Regions from separate parts of the Homo sapiens genome. Here regions 2, 3 and 4 are each linked to region 1. The links are contacts of gene promoters, found by promoter capture Hi-C in human tissues and cell types (Jung and others, 2019). All regions are on one chromosome and are shown on one strand. Each heading gives the region's core, a stretch centred on a gene start or on the middle of the fragment in contact. The rest is flanking DNA. Distances are from core to core; before and after follow the strand shown. Region 1 holds the start of BRINP1 (BMP/retinoic acid inducible neural specific 1). Region 2 has its middle 80 kb from the start of LINC02578. Region 3 overlaps LOC102724929 (a long non-coding RNA gene). Region 4 has its middle 140 kb from the start of LINC02578.

What was found. The method cuts DNA at HindIII sites, captures the fragments that hold promoters and counts their contacts. A contact is called where the count stands out against the background at its distance.
Region 2: a fragment that was not itself captured here is called in contact with the fragment with the promoter of BRINP1 in region 1 in 4 of the 25 tissues and cell types used here (H1 embryonic stem cells, adrenal gland, mesendoderm cells and 1 more).
Region 3: a contact is called between a fragment that was not itself captured here and the fragment with the promoter of BRINP1 in region 1, in 1 of the 25 tissues and cell types used here (H1 embryonic stem cells).
Region 4: a contact is called between a fragment that was not itself captured here and the fragment with the promoter of BRINP1 in region 1, in 1 of the 25 tissues and cell types used here (H1 embryonic stem cells).

The regions. Positions count from the first base shown.
Region 1 is chr9:119,367,659-119,371,207 of GRCh38, forward strand. BRINP1 (BMP/retinoic acid inducible neural specific 1) reads right to left here and starts at 1,777. Exons shown (of 8, transcript NM_014618.3): 1 at 1,398-1,777. RefSeq lists enhancers at 1,176-1,697, 1,698-2,220, 2,221-2,741. The HindIII fragment of the contact is 11,628 bases long and covers 1-3,549 here.
Region 2 is chr9:118,597,732-118,601,280 of GRCh38, forward strand. No RefSeq gene overlaps it. Among named protein-coding and RNA genes, the nearest start is that of LINC02578, 80 kb to the right of the region's middle. The HindIII fragment of the contact is 6,788 bases long and covers 1-3,549 here.
Region 3 is chr9:118,656,849-118,660,397 of GRCh38, forward strand. All of the region lies in intron 3 of LOC102724929 (a long non-coding RNA gene), which reads right to left. Among named protein-coding and RNA genes, the nearest start is that of LINC02578, 21 kb to the right of the region's middle. The HindIII fragment of the contact is 7,495 bases long and covers 1-3,549 here.
Region 4 is chr9:118,818,966-118,822,514 of GRCh38, forward strand. No RefSeq gene overlaps it. Among named protein-coding and RNA genes, the nearest start is that of LINC02578, 140 kb to the left of the region's middle. The HindIII fragment of the contact is 8,112 bases long and covers 1-3,549 here.

The sequences.
Region 1 (3,549 bases), core at 527-3,026:
CTCCACCGCCCCCCTGCCCTTGGCAGTATTTTGGAGCCAAGTGAGAGACGCGAGGTGCAAACCGACAGCAGTTTAAGTCAATTACTGCCACATTCTGTCATGGGTTCCACACTCACAGCCCCTTTTCAAATTGTAGATCTCCCTCAGTACTGAAACACTCTCTCTCTCTGTCTCCCTCTCTCTCGCTCTTGCTCTCTCTCTCTCCCTCTCCACCTCTCTGCCTTCTCTCAATATCCCCCTAACTCCAGGGGAGCCATGGAGAGGCATATTTAGGGAGAGACTCTCTGGGGGCTTCCCCGCCTGAAATGGGGAAAGAAAGACGAATCTGTCTTAGGAAAGTGCCCCATCCATCTCCTTCCATATCATCCACAGCCGCCCCAGATGAAATTTCCTCTGAGACCCTTTGCAACTGTGATGGATGAGCAAGTCCCCGAGGACGCTTTCTCCTTTCCCCTGAGGGGGATCCATGCAAACTTGCCAGATCCTCCCCAAAACCAACAGAAGCCGGAGGGGCTCTGTTGATTGCAAACGGGGATGCAGGGTAAATCCCTATCCCAGACTTTCCAAGCCCCAGATAAGGAGCCCACCGCTGACTTCCCCCTTTCTCTGTCACCCACTATCCAGTGTCTCCAAATTCCCATCAGAATCTTGGAGTCTGCCCAGTGTAGAATTTAAAGTGACAGCGTCTCATTTGCCTCGGGGGTTGGCCATGTCTCTTTCATATTAAGCTGTGGGTCCCAGTGTAGCAGGATTCCACCGTTTGGAGGAATTTTCCTTCAAGCGTACCAACATTGGGCTAAATAAGGTGCCATCTACAGCCCCATAATCCTCCCCAAACCCCAAGCCCAGAGCCCCAAGAGGAAGTCCACAGCGGGTTTCCCGGTGACTACGTGATCCTATAGTAAGGGTCCCATTCCGTGTAAGCTGGAGAGACCTAATTAAAAAGACACACGAGGGCACACATACAAACACATACGTACAAACATGCACACACACATCGCGCCGTAAGTAGGTTATAGGACCTCTCTCTCTTCACCCCTCCCTTACACACACGGACACACACACACACCACGAACACACGCATCAAACGCAAACGACGCCGCACACGCAAACACACTAGCACCACATCAAGTTCCCACCATGGTGCACACGTCGGGAGCGCGCGGGGACACACACGCCACTCACTCAAACCCGCAATTAGCCCTTTGAGCCCCAGGCACAGGAACCCCCTCCCTAGAACTGGAGAAGACTTGGAGGCGGCGGGGCGGCCAGGTGAAGAGCGGACAAGGGTGCCGGTAGGGGGAGGGGCAGAGGAGCGCGGGGACGCCCCGAATGCGGCCCGGGGCCGGGTCCAAGGGCAGCGGGGCTGCGGGGCGCTGCACCCGGCGCCGCCTTACCTGGAGTCAATGTCCGTCTTTGGCGGAGAGCTGCGGGAGGACGCTTTTTATTCGGCTCGGTGGGAACTTGGGAGAGCCCTGCGTGCAGCTCGCATTCCGGGCACGGCGCGGGGACTGCAGGCGTGGGGGTACCTGGCTCCTAGCAGCCTGGCTCATACTCAGCCGTAAAGTCCCCTTCGCTGGTCCCGAGGACAGGCATGAATCCCGGCTCCGGAAGGCGGTCACTACTCCCTCTGCCTCCCGGCTCTCTCGCTCTCGCTCTCGCTGTTGCTCGCTCGCTCTCTCCCTCTCTCGCGGGTTCGCTCGCCTGCGCTCTCCTCCTCCCCGCGCGCCAGATCAGTTTGCAGCCGTGGGGTCCGGGAGCGAGGCGGCTGGCGAATGGAGAGGGAAGTCCAAGTGCGCCGCGGTCTCCGGGCGGGGAGCGGCGGAGGCCGGGCTACGCCGGGGGAGGGACTTAGCCGGCGACGGCCGAAAATGAATGGGGGAGCGGCGGCCGGGGGGCGGGGAGGGAGGAGCTGAACGCCGGGGTTGCTTCCGAGGAGTGTTTTGTACATCTTTAGGCGGAGGAGGAGGAGAAGCGAGAGGAGGAGAGACGGGAGGCCGCCTCGAGGGAAGGGCGGCCCGGGTGGGCTGGGGCTGAGCCGTAGGGAGTTTCGTGGGTCTGGGGCGTGTAGGGTGTTGTGTCTATGCGCACGAGCATCCAAAGGGACCGCGCATACGCGCAAACCCGGAATCCTGGTGCCCTTAAGCGTGACTGTACTGTGTGTGTCGCGAGTACCTGAGTGTTTCTGGGGCGGCAGGTGTTTCCACGGCCGCGTGGATCCATCGAGTGTGGGTTTTGTCTCGGGAGTTGCCCGTGTGGGTCCGTTTGTGTCTGCGCGTCTCTCTGTGAGTGTTTGACACTGTTTGTTTCTCTCGGTGTGTAGGCGAGAGCCCACGTAACCTCCCAGAATGAAGCAAGAGCTTCTCTACGTAGGCAGGATGTAGGAGGGAGAAGCTGAGGGGACACGAAGTTCTCTGGAGACCACCAGAGGCGGGGAAGGGGCGAGGGTACAGGGACTAAGACATGAAAATAAAAAGCAAAATACTCTGCAATCAGCCTGAATGCAGGCTGGGGCTGCTAACATAGGGCCTCTTCCTGAAGCAGAAAATAAAGCCCTCGTATGATAATTCCCACACAGCGCACATTTGGTATGTTTGTTTACTTTGCTTCCCTTCTGATTTAAACCAAATCAGCAATGCAGATCCCTAGTCCCCTGAAGATTAGGCAAGAATAGAAAGCATTAAGGCTACCAGATGGAGGGGCAGGAAGTCATAGGAAAAGGTGTTGGAATATGTAAAAGAGCCAGATTCAGTAGAAGTGCAGGCTCCAGAGAGGTTGGAGTCCTGTAGCTGTCTGGTCTTGGTGAAATCACTTACCCCTTAAGCCTCAATTCCTTGTCTGTTTAATAGAATAATAATATATCTACCCATCTAATAGGGTTGATGTGGAATTGTAATGAGTTAATATATGCAAAGGCACTTAGACTGCTCATGAGTTAATGTATGCAAAGGCACTTAGACTGCTCCCTGACACCTAGTGAGTGCTCAGTGCATGTTGTCTGCTTTTATGATTGCCATTGTATGTTTTTTGTTTGTTTTTTAATTCAAAGGATGATAAGAGAGAGATGTGACCACCAGGGAGGCCTAGAACAATCTAGGAGCCAGTGAACTAATTGGAGGAAGAGGAGTCTTGAAACAAAATGGAAGAGAAATGTTTGAGTGATGAACTGGGAACTCGGGAAAAATTATTTAATCGACAAAGAGAAAGGGAGAAAGAGAGGAGAAGACATCGAGCTAGCCAGAATGATCCTGGGTCTCAGAAGGTCAGGACTGAGGGGAGAGGAAAGGGAGAGGAGGAGCAGCCAGTGCAGAGCTTCTCAGCCTTCACTGGAATCCCAATGAGGAGGAGTCAGCACCACGGACAGCTCTCCAGCCACAAACCCAGTCAGCGATTTCTATTTTCGCCTGGTGGAAATTTCTCCCTTTTTTCTTGGGCAACTTTCTCTTTCCCTTGGCTTCTGGTCCAGGTTCAGGTCTTGAACACAGGTTCCCCAGGTCAGTTCTGACTTTGATTCTGACCACGAAGAAATACGCCCACCACACACACTCC
Region 2 (3,549 bases), core at 402-2,901, 770 kb before region 1:
TCGTTACCTTATTTTACATTCCCAAAAATTCCCATTAGAAAGAGTGATCTCCATTTTAGCTTAAGAAGTTCAGGTTTAGAGGTGGTAAGTAGATGCTGTGCAGGCATAATTTGAAGGCTGGTCTGTCTGACTTCACTTTCAGTCACTTTACTGATTGCCTCTAAAAATAGAAAGGGAAGGATATCTAACCGATTTTCTCATTGGAGTTTTTACTGGGTTCTTTTTGCCAGGCATTATATTGGCTCTTTAAATACTTCATCCTACTTAACCCACACAACAACTCTATAAATTAGTATTATTAGTCCCATTTAATTGATAAGAAAACCAAGCCTCAGAAAGAAGCAAAGTAATTCAGGCAAGCCCATATGGCAAGGAAGTAACAAATGCTATATGAAATCCTGTGGCTCTGTGCTTGTCTGTCTTTAATATTCAGAGTTGCTCACTATGCTACAATTGCCTTATAATAGATGAGGAAGAAGAAAGGCAGAGGAGCAAGTAGGAGAGAGAGAGAGAACTGACTCCAAACATAGATCAGATACAAAAATGAATTTTTGGACTGACTTTGATAAGGACAGAATACCTCAAAGACAGAATTCTTTGTCTCTATTCTTTAGCAATTTTCCCCCAAGAGTCACTGGGACAAACGAGTAAAACAACTTTTCTTTTGAAAAGATTGGTTGCTTATTCTAAGCCTGCCAAAGATATCTGAAGTGTAACCAAATCTTTGTATTTGATGCCCTTGTGATTCCTTCATTTAGACAATTAGCACAGAATCTTACAGCCCATGAGCTTTGGTTCATGATTTTTTTTTTTAAGTGATGAGCACCTGAGGCTCACAGAGGAAAAGCTTGGCAAGGGTGACCTTGCAGAATAGTGGCCAGAACCCAGTTCTTTTTATTCCCCGTCTAGTGTTCTTTAGCCATGGGTTAACTCGGTGATTAAATATGGTTAAACATGATGAATATTTTAAAAGCTACTTGGAGTTTCTTGGTTCTAAAGTACTCTGAATGCCAAACGCAACATATTTTTATTGCCTATTTCTACCACATAACAAGGCCATTTGCTCTGTGGGATCTTGGTAATAGGGATAAGTAGGAACAAACAGAGGTAAGGTACAGATTCTTTTTCCTCACTAATGTGAACAGATGGCTTACAATGGGAAGTGGATACTGGCTGCAAAGATGTGTGAACCACTGTCACCCTGTGAATCTTTGAGAAAGAGTGGAAGAGGCATCTGGAAATTCAGTGGTTGAGCCCTGAATAAAAAGACACGTTAGGCCTCTCAGGACCTGGTTAAAGTTGTGGGAAGAACATCAGATTGAGAAGCAAGTTACATCTAGTGCTTTCAGGATCTAAAACTTTAGAGAAGCTGATAAACGCTCCTGTGCCTATGCTGGCTGATGTGTTACATAAAATGGGAATTACAATATTTGCCAATGTGCAAGCATGTTAGGTACTTGCATGCATACATTTTCTGATGGTGGTTCTTTTAATCTGTTCTCTCTCTTCTTTCTCTATCAATAATTTTTCTTCAAGGCCTAACAGTGTTGTTATTTTATAATCTTTCACCAGTCTCTTAATAAGAAGTAATTTCTCTTCCCTCTCTTCATCCTGATGTGTGCATGTGTATTTGCTATGATTCTTAATTCAGCATGCTTTTACTTGTGATTTGCTATCAGTATATCTACCTCCTTTACTAAATAGTTAAGTTCTTCTGGGCAAGAGCTATGTTTTCACCATTCCTTTTTCTTCCAGTAAAATTACACAATTTGTTTTGCATAGAGAAAGTTCTTATTCACCATTGATTATGTCATGTTAAATTGTAACCATAGACACTACCTGTGTTCTTCCAGACATAAAGTCTAAAAACTGAGTGTCCATTGTGAGTTATTTGAGAAAATGGCTACAGAAATACTTGGAAATTTACCAGATTATCACAAAGGATATGGAGGCAGAAGCAGAAATCGTGGATATGAGACTGCTCAAAATATATAACTTTAGGCAATCAATTCACTTTACTGGGCCTCAATTTTCTCATCTGTAAATTGGGGATGATAGTACTTGTCTTAACTACTTCCCAGTATGATTGTAAGGATGGCATGAGATAACATTTAAAGGCATTTTGCAAACTATATAGCACTATAGATAGGTCAAGGTTGAGTATTATTTTTATTATTGTTGTAATTGCGGTTATGTGTTACATAATGATGTTGTAGTCAACAGCAGAACACATATACAATGGTGGTCACACAAGATTATAATACTGTATTTTAATGTATCTTTTCTATATTTAAGTGTGTTTAAATACAAAAATACTTACCATAATTTATAATTACCTACAGTATTCAGTACAGTACCCTGTTGTACAGGTTTGTCGTCTGGCAGCAATAGACTATACCATATAGCCTAAGTGTGTAGTGGTCTATACCATGTAGGTTTGGGTAAGTACACCTTTGATGATTACACAATGACAAAATCATCTAATAATGCATTTCTCAGAAACTATCCTCATTGTTAAGCGATGCATGACTATATTACTACATCATAACTCTCTAAAATCTCATGTGGTTTACGTAACTATAATTCTGAACTTGGTGGAGTTTTATAGTAAAAATGGTAAATAAGAGATAACTGTATTAAAAATGGCCATGTTCTTTTGGTCTCCTTGGAAATTTCCTAATGAAACAAGAACTAAAATCTGAAATCTTTAGAATGCTAACAGAGCCAGAACCAATAAACATGTATAATCCAGGCAACCTATTGGCTACTCAGAAATAATAACAGATGAGAATGGGACTGGAGACCAAGGCAGAATGATCACTTGAGGCCAGGAGTTTGAGACCAGCCTGGACAATATAGTGAGACCCCATCTCTACAAAAAAAAAATCAGTAAAAAGAAAAAATAAGTATTCAGGTATGGTGGCTTTAGCCTGTAGTTTCAGCGACTTAGGAAGCTGAAGTGGGAGAATGGCTTGAGCCCAGGAGTTGGAGGTTATAGTGAGCGATGATGTGCCACTGTACTCCAGATGGATGAAAAAGTGAAATTCTGTCTCTGGAAAAAAAAAAATGGACTGGAAGGTATAAGAGGTAGGAGGAGTTTTCTCTTGAGCTTATATTAATCCTTGACTTCTCACAGCAACCTACAATCTTCTGATGTATTTGCCAGCAGTCTCACCTTCAGAGACGCCTCGGCCATTTCAGTGACTCTTTACCAAATTTGAACCCTGCCTTTTTGTTAGTGATCTTGAGCAATTCATTTTTGCTATCTGAATCTGTTTTCTCATCTGCAAGATGGGGGTACATACAAATAGAGACAATAGCCAGCATTTACTGAATAACTACAGAGTGTCCAACTCTGGGATGGTTTTTCTGTATCTCCCTAACAGCCAAGGATACTGCTGGGAAACTTAAATAACTTATTTTGCCATCCTGGCCCCTTTCCTCTATAAAAACATAATTGAAAACTATAATTTAAGACTGCACTGGCAAAAATACAGATATCTGGGCTGTGAATTGCTGAGAAAGGGTGGGACTTGGACTTGGACAAAG
Region 3 (3,549 bases), core at 440-2,939, 710 kb before region 1:
TGTAGGGGAGAGAGAGAGTACTTATATAAAAATATAAAAACAAATTCTACTTGATTCATTTATCTTATTACCATGAGAATCCATCAACATAAACAGAAAAATGAGGGGGATGGCTTTGGCTTTCTAGTCACTCAGATCTGCATTCAAACCCCGTGCTTGAACCACCTCAGCTGTGATGTTAAAACTGAGGCTTAGCCTCAGTTTCCTCATATGTAGAAGAGAATAGAAACTTACTCAAAGATTTAGAAAAAAATGCATCTGTATCATCTAAAACAACATTTGGCATATAGCAGTTTTAAAGTGAATACATGTTCTAGATGGGGCTGAGCTAAAGTGAAGAAATATAGCTTACTCTTTCATTTAACGCATTCTATTAAGTCCACATTTTGTGACAGGCACTGGACTAGACTTTTTGTATTTGGAATACAAAAATAACAGTGTAACCCCACCCTTAGGAGGCACAGCATACAGCAATGACAGAGATGGTGACCAGATAACATGAAGTACTGTGCACCATAATGTGCCATAATGTGGAAAGTGCATTGAAAAAGTAATTAGAAAGCTCAATCATGGAAAATGTTGTCAGAGATATGAGGATAGGAAGCCACCATGCACCACTGGTTGTAGAATAGATGTATAGGCATTCTGGAGAGCATTGCAACTATGCCTAGTCAGATTAAGTGTAGAAATAGTCCCATTCCACAAATCTTCCCTGAGGTCAGGAATTCGAGACCAGCCTGGCCAACATGGTGAAACCCGGTCTCTACTAAAAATACAAAAATTAGCTGGACACAGTGGCATGTGCCTGTATTCCCAGCTACTTGGGAGGATGAGGCTGGAGAATTGCTTGAACCCAAGAGGTAGAGGTTGCAGTGAGCTGAGATTGTGCCACTGCACTCCAGCCTGGGTGACAGAGTGAGACTCTGTCTCAAAAAAAAAAAAAAAAAAAAAAAAAGAAAGAAAGAATTTTCATGGACCTACACAAAGGGATGAGTAAAAGGTGTTCATTGTAGGATTTGTTGCAAGGAGTGTGGGAGCACCTCCTTGGAGAATGAGGCAGGTTAAGATATGTCAGCTGTCCAATGGAGAACCAGAAGGTCAGGAGACACTACATACTAGATGTGCACATAGTAACATGGATGGGTCCAGAAAACAGGACAAATAGAATGAGAATCATACTGTTTTCATTTATACATATTAAAAATATGTTAACTACAAAATAATAACATACATACAAAAATTCATATAAACAAAAGCTGATATGGTTTAGCTGTGTCCCCACCCAAAATTTATCTTGAATTTTAGCTCCCATAATTCCCATGTGTCATGGGAAGGACCCAGTGGGAGGTAATTGAATCATGGGGATGGGTCTTTCCCATGTTGTTCTTGTGATAGTGAATAAGTCTCACAAGAGCTGATGGTTTTATAAAGGGGAGTTACCCCACACAAGCTCTCTTGCCTGCCACCATGTAAGATGTGACTTTACTCCTCATTCCCCTTCCACCATGATTGTGAGGCCTCCCCAGCCATGTGGAACTGTGAGTCAATTAAACCTCTTTCCTTTAAAAATTACCCAGTCTCAGGTATGTCTTTATTAGCAGTGTGAGAACAGACTAATACAAAAGGGTACTCATTAAACCCTGTGATGTGGAGAGGGAAATGGGGGCACATGGGAATAAAATAAATAATATAGAAACATATCTTTGTAAGGATGGATCATAAACATTTGTCATGAACTGAGGGGTATGAATTAGCCAACACTATCCATTGAGGAGAAGCAAAGTGATAAAGAACACATAATTTGTCTTAGAGTAAAGGGAAAAATTCCATGGACCAGCATTCATTCAACAATTCTTTTTTTTTGTTGTTTGTTTGTTTGTTTGTTTGTTTTTATTATACTTTAAGTTTTAGGGTACATGTGCACATTGTGCAGGTTAGTTACATATGTATACATGTGCCATGCTGGTGCACTTAGGATGCACCCAGTATCATTTGCTAAGAAAACACAAAGAATAAAATAGGCCAAATCCTTAAATCTAATAAAGCTTAGAACTTATGAGTGTGAAGGCAGTCTAGAAAGAAATATACAAATTAGTATACACTATGATTTCAAGTGGCAGAAATGTTATGAAGAAAGATAAACCAGTATGGAATTAGTGAATATATGGAAGAACAGGGAACATTCAAAATACGGAGACCAGAGAAGTCCTATCTTGAAAGCATAATATTTGAGCATGGATGTGAATAACGTCAAGGAGAGATCTAACCAAAAGTCCAGGTTGGAGAATAAGTAGAAGACTGTTGAAGCAACAATGGATGAGCAATGAGTGAGCTCGTGGTCTCAAAATAACAGGAATAACCACATAGTTGACAAGAATGAACAAGAAGCACAGAGAAGAGGAGGCGAAAGGGAAGGCATGAGGCAAACCACGTAGGGTCTTAGAGGGCAAAGTAAGGAGTATGGATATTATTCCGATTATATGAGAAGCCAGTCATAGATCTGAGCTGGGCAGTGACATGATTTGAATTTTTTTGTTCCTCTACTCTTATTTTAGGGTCTAGAGGAACATGTGTAGGCTTGTTACATAGGTAAATTGTGTTTGACTTACTTTTCAAAAAATGTTCTCTTAGGCTACAGTTGAGGACCTTTCTGGGAGGGCAGGGTCAAGTGTAGAAGTAGAAAAATCAGGCCGAAGACTATTTCAGCATTCCAGGTAGGACATGATGTTCAGTTGGCCTATGTATAATCAGGCTTCAGTGGAATATTTGCTTTGTTTCAGCACACAAGTTCAGGAAAGGATGTTATGAGATGAAGAACATCATTAAACTTAGCTTAGAGATCTGAGCTCTCCAGAGGTGATTTAGGGCACAGGGCAAATGAAGGAGGGTGGAAACACACATGCAAGACAGGCTGAGGTCAGATTAAGAAGCGCTGAATGGACAGACTAAGGAGCTTGGACTCTTTCTTGCAGAAAATGGGACCATCAGGGGAATGGCCTGATGTAACCTTGGCTTTTATGAGATAATTCTGGAAGCCTTGTAAATGATGGTTTGGAAGAGACAGAAGGCAAGAGGTGAGCAAAACTTTAGAGTAAAATTATAGCAGTTTGCAAGGATAAGAAAAGAAATGTTCACGTAATTGAGTATCTAAGGTACTTAAATGTTCTGCATAATGGATATAATTATACCTACTGCATTGGTTTCTTATACTGTTAAATGAATTAGTGCGTGAAAAGTGCTTAGAATAGAATCTGACATATGCTAACCTCTTGATAAACATTAGCAGTTATTCATATATTATAAATATTAATGATATTATTTCTATGTGCTAGTCTATGGACAAGTATTATTTCTAAGGACTAGGCCTGAATAATATATATATTTTTAATTATTTTATTTGATCTTTGAGAAGGAGTCACTCTGTCGCCCAGGCTGGAGTGCAGTGGCATGATCTCGCCTCACTGCAACCTCTGCTCCCGGGGGTTCAAGTGATTTTCCTGCCTCAGCCTCCCAGGCAGCTGGGACTACAGGTGTGTGCCACCAAGCCTA
Region 4 (3,549 bases), core at 379-2,878, 550 kb before region 1:
GGCAGATCGCCTGAGGTCGGGAGTTCGAGACTAGCCTGACCAACATGAAGAAACCCCGTCTCCACTAAAAATACAAAATTTGCCAGGTGTGGTGGTGCATGCCTGTAATCCCAGCTACTTGGGAGGCTGAGGCAGGACAATTGCTTGGACGCAAGAGGCAGAGGTTGCGGTGAGCCGAGATTGCACCATTGCACTCCAGCCTGTGCAATAAGAGCAAAACTCCATCTCAAAAAAGAGAAGAAAAGAAAAAAAAATTATTTTTTATGACGTGCAGTACCTCTTATATTTTATACTCCCTATTTTTCACTGGTGTATAGTTGAGGAATCTACATCTCCTGGTTTATAGGGCCTGGTCATGCTTTATGCTTGACTCCTTGGTTTCCCATCCAATTTAGAAGTTGCTCTGGATTATTTTTTCATTTATAACAAAATATTATCACTAATTGTTGCATTAAAACAAGCAAGAATGGGAACCTCTATTTTGTACTTGTAATTTCTGTCATTATCTCAAGTAACAGCATGTTGGATACATGCACAATTAACAGAAATTTTACTTTAACCAGTGACTACACATGTAGAATGACCAGCAATAATTTATCATTCTTTTTTAGATAATTTGCAGATGTTATATTACAGTGCTCTTCTTTAAGGACTTGAAGAAATGCACTTAGTGCAGTGAGCCGAGATCCTGCCACTGCACTCCAGCCTGGGCGACAGAGCGAGACTCCGTCTCAAAAAAAAAAAAAAAAAAAAAAAAGAAATGCACTTAGGCACTTAGATGTTAGATTGTGGTGGGGAAGGTACCGCTGTTGCCCTGTGGGCCATTTACTATTAATATAATAGCCATCTGCACTGTACCCAACAGAGTGGCCTACAAGATGCTGGAAATTTCTCAGGACCTAGTAGCCAGGATCAATGGGCAATCTGAGAGACTGTAGTTCATAGGTACATGGAATTGTGACAGAGTACAAATGCATCTGACCACACTCACTACAGTAGTTTTTTTAAAAATTCTATTGATTTTAATGTCCTATAACCGTTTTATTTCTTTTTTATAAATGTTTTTATTAAAGAAATGAGCTTTTAGAAAGCAAATGGTTAATTAAAAATTACTACTGAATTTCAGTTACTAAAGAAACTTGGTGATGAGTATCATCTTCAAAAATATTTGTAAGCATTATCATCTGTCATAAAAGAACATAATGGTATCATCGACCATAAAAAGCAGACATGCACATTTTAAAGAAGAATCAGATTTACTTCAAATTAGCAGTTAGTTTCCATAAGATTCATCCTCAAACAATTGTTTAATCCATGAGACTGCAGTAGAAAATGTTTCTATATCCATTTGCAAAGCATGACTTTTCATTGAGATCAAATGATTGTTCCATTTTCTTTCATTTTTTTTTATTTGAAGGATTTTTTTCCTTCAAATATAAAGTGAAGTGATAGCTGTTAACACACTGGTTCCATTACTACTGGAAAAGCTTCACAGCTAGGTGTATAAAGTGAGTTTTGTGTTGGTATTACCAGATGCTATAAATGTAAAATTAGCTAATTCTAATAATGGTTTGATAATGATGATTATTATGATTATGACTTTGATTATGGTGATTAAAATCAAAATACAGCTTTTATAAGTTCATTTTGTTGAGTGAAACATTTGAAATTTTAGGGAATGCTTTGTAAATTCAGATGAAAGTTCAGCATTGAAAATAAAATTAGCTGTTTTTGTAGTGATAATATGAATACAAACTTCATAGAGCACATCATGGTGAAAACTATATTTTTACTAAATTAAGAGGCCTACAGTGAAGAAATATGCTAGAAATTGCTGTTGATGCCCTCATAATTCATTATTTCCAAGAAGTTACAAAAATATTCATTAGAATAGCAGTGCACACTTAGCACTTTGATGCTCATCATAAATCAAATTTAGAAGTATTTGAGCTCTGGAAAAATTATTTTGTATATCAATCTGAATGTTTTAAAAATGATAGTAAACTATTTTTTTTTCAAATGAGGCTTTTAAATTTTGGCTGCATGTTTAAAATATTTTGCACAATATTCAATGGTATGAATGCCAAAAATTTATCAGATTTTTAACTTTCAGAGTATCTAAAATATATTCTGTACTGGAATGCAATGACTTGAAGAAAGCCCTCAATTTTGCAGCAACCAGATTTAGCAAAGTATTAAAAAAAGATATATAAAGCAATAACTGACAAGTTTTGTCTTCTGAAATACTTGTCAGTAAAATTCTCTGAATAGAAGGAAAAAGACAATAGCTATGAAAATATTTGGACTGAAATATTTATACATTTTAACATCAAAAATATAAGAATATACTCCATTTTTAAGAATTTGCCCTTGGCTTAGAGTTATTTCACATCCACAGAGAGAATATGTTCTCAACTGAAATTATAAAACAGAGCATGTGGTCCATAGATGATGTCAGAAACTTTAAATATGTTAACTATAACATGAAACTTTGAAAAAGATTACAAACTTTATTTATGAGAAAAACAATAAGACCATATTGAAGAGTGTATTCTTCAGAGAAAAACAATAGCAGTGACACAGTGAGAGAAATACGTATGTTTAAGAAACTGATTAAAGTACACGAATATGTGCCAAGAATAATTATTATGGTTATTCCAATTTAATGCTCAGCTAATCAAATAGAAAAAATGTTTAAAACATTTTTAAATTTAAATACATGAATGCATGCCATTTTTATTTTTAAAAGTGTTTTATGCTTTCAAAAAGTTTTAAATATATTTATACACAAATACAACAGAACTTGTCTGTCAATAAATATATATTTTAAAATGCTATTTTTTTTAATTAATAAAATTTATTTTTAGAGAAGGTTTGGTTCACAGAAAATTAAGCAGAAAGTACAGATAGTTCCCGTTTACCTCCTGTTTCCATACATGTACAGCCTACCCCACTATCAATATCCTGTACCAGAGTGGTACATTTGTTACAATTGATGAACTTACATCTCACTTTATTATCAACCAAAGTCCATAGTTTACATTAAAGTTTATTCACTATTGGTGTTGTGCATTCCATGGGTTTTGACAAGTGTGTAAGTATATAACATGTATTCACTATTAAGCATATTAAAGAATAGTTTACACAGCCCCAAACCCTCTATGCTCTGCCTATTCATCCCTCCCTTCCCTCATCCCTTGGCAACCACTAATCTTTTTACTGTCTCCATAGTTTTGTTTTTCCAGAATATCATATAGTTAAATAGTATTAAGCCTTTTTAAGATTGGTTTCTTTCACGTGATAATAAACACTTAAGTTTCCTCTGTGCCTTTTCATAGCTTGATAGCTCATCTATTTTTAGTGCTGCATAATATATTATCTGGATATACTATAGTTTATTTATGTGCTCACCTATTAAAGGATGTCTTGTTGCTTCCAAGTTTTGGCAATTATGAATAAAGTAGATATCTGTGTGGACAAAAGTTTTCGACTCCTGTGGGTAAATACTAAGGAATATAATTGCTGATTCATATGTTAAGAGAAGGTTTA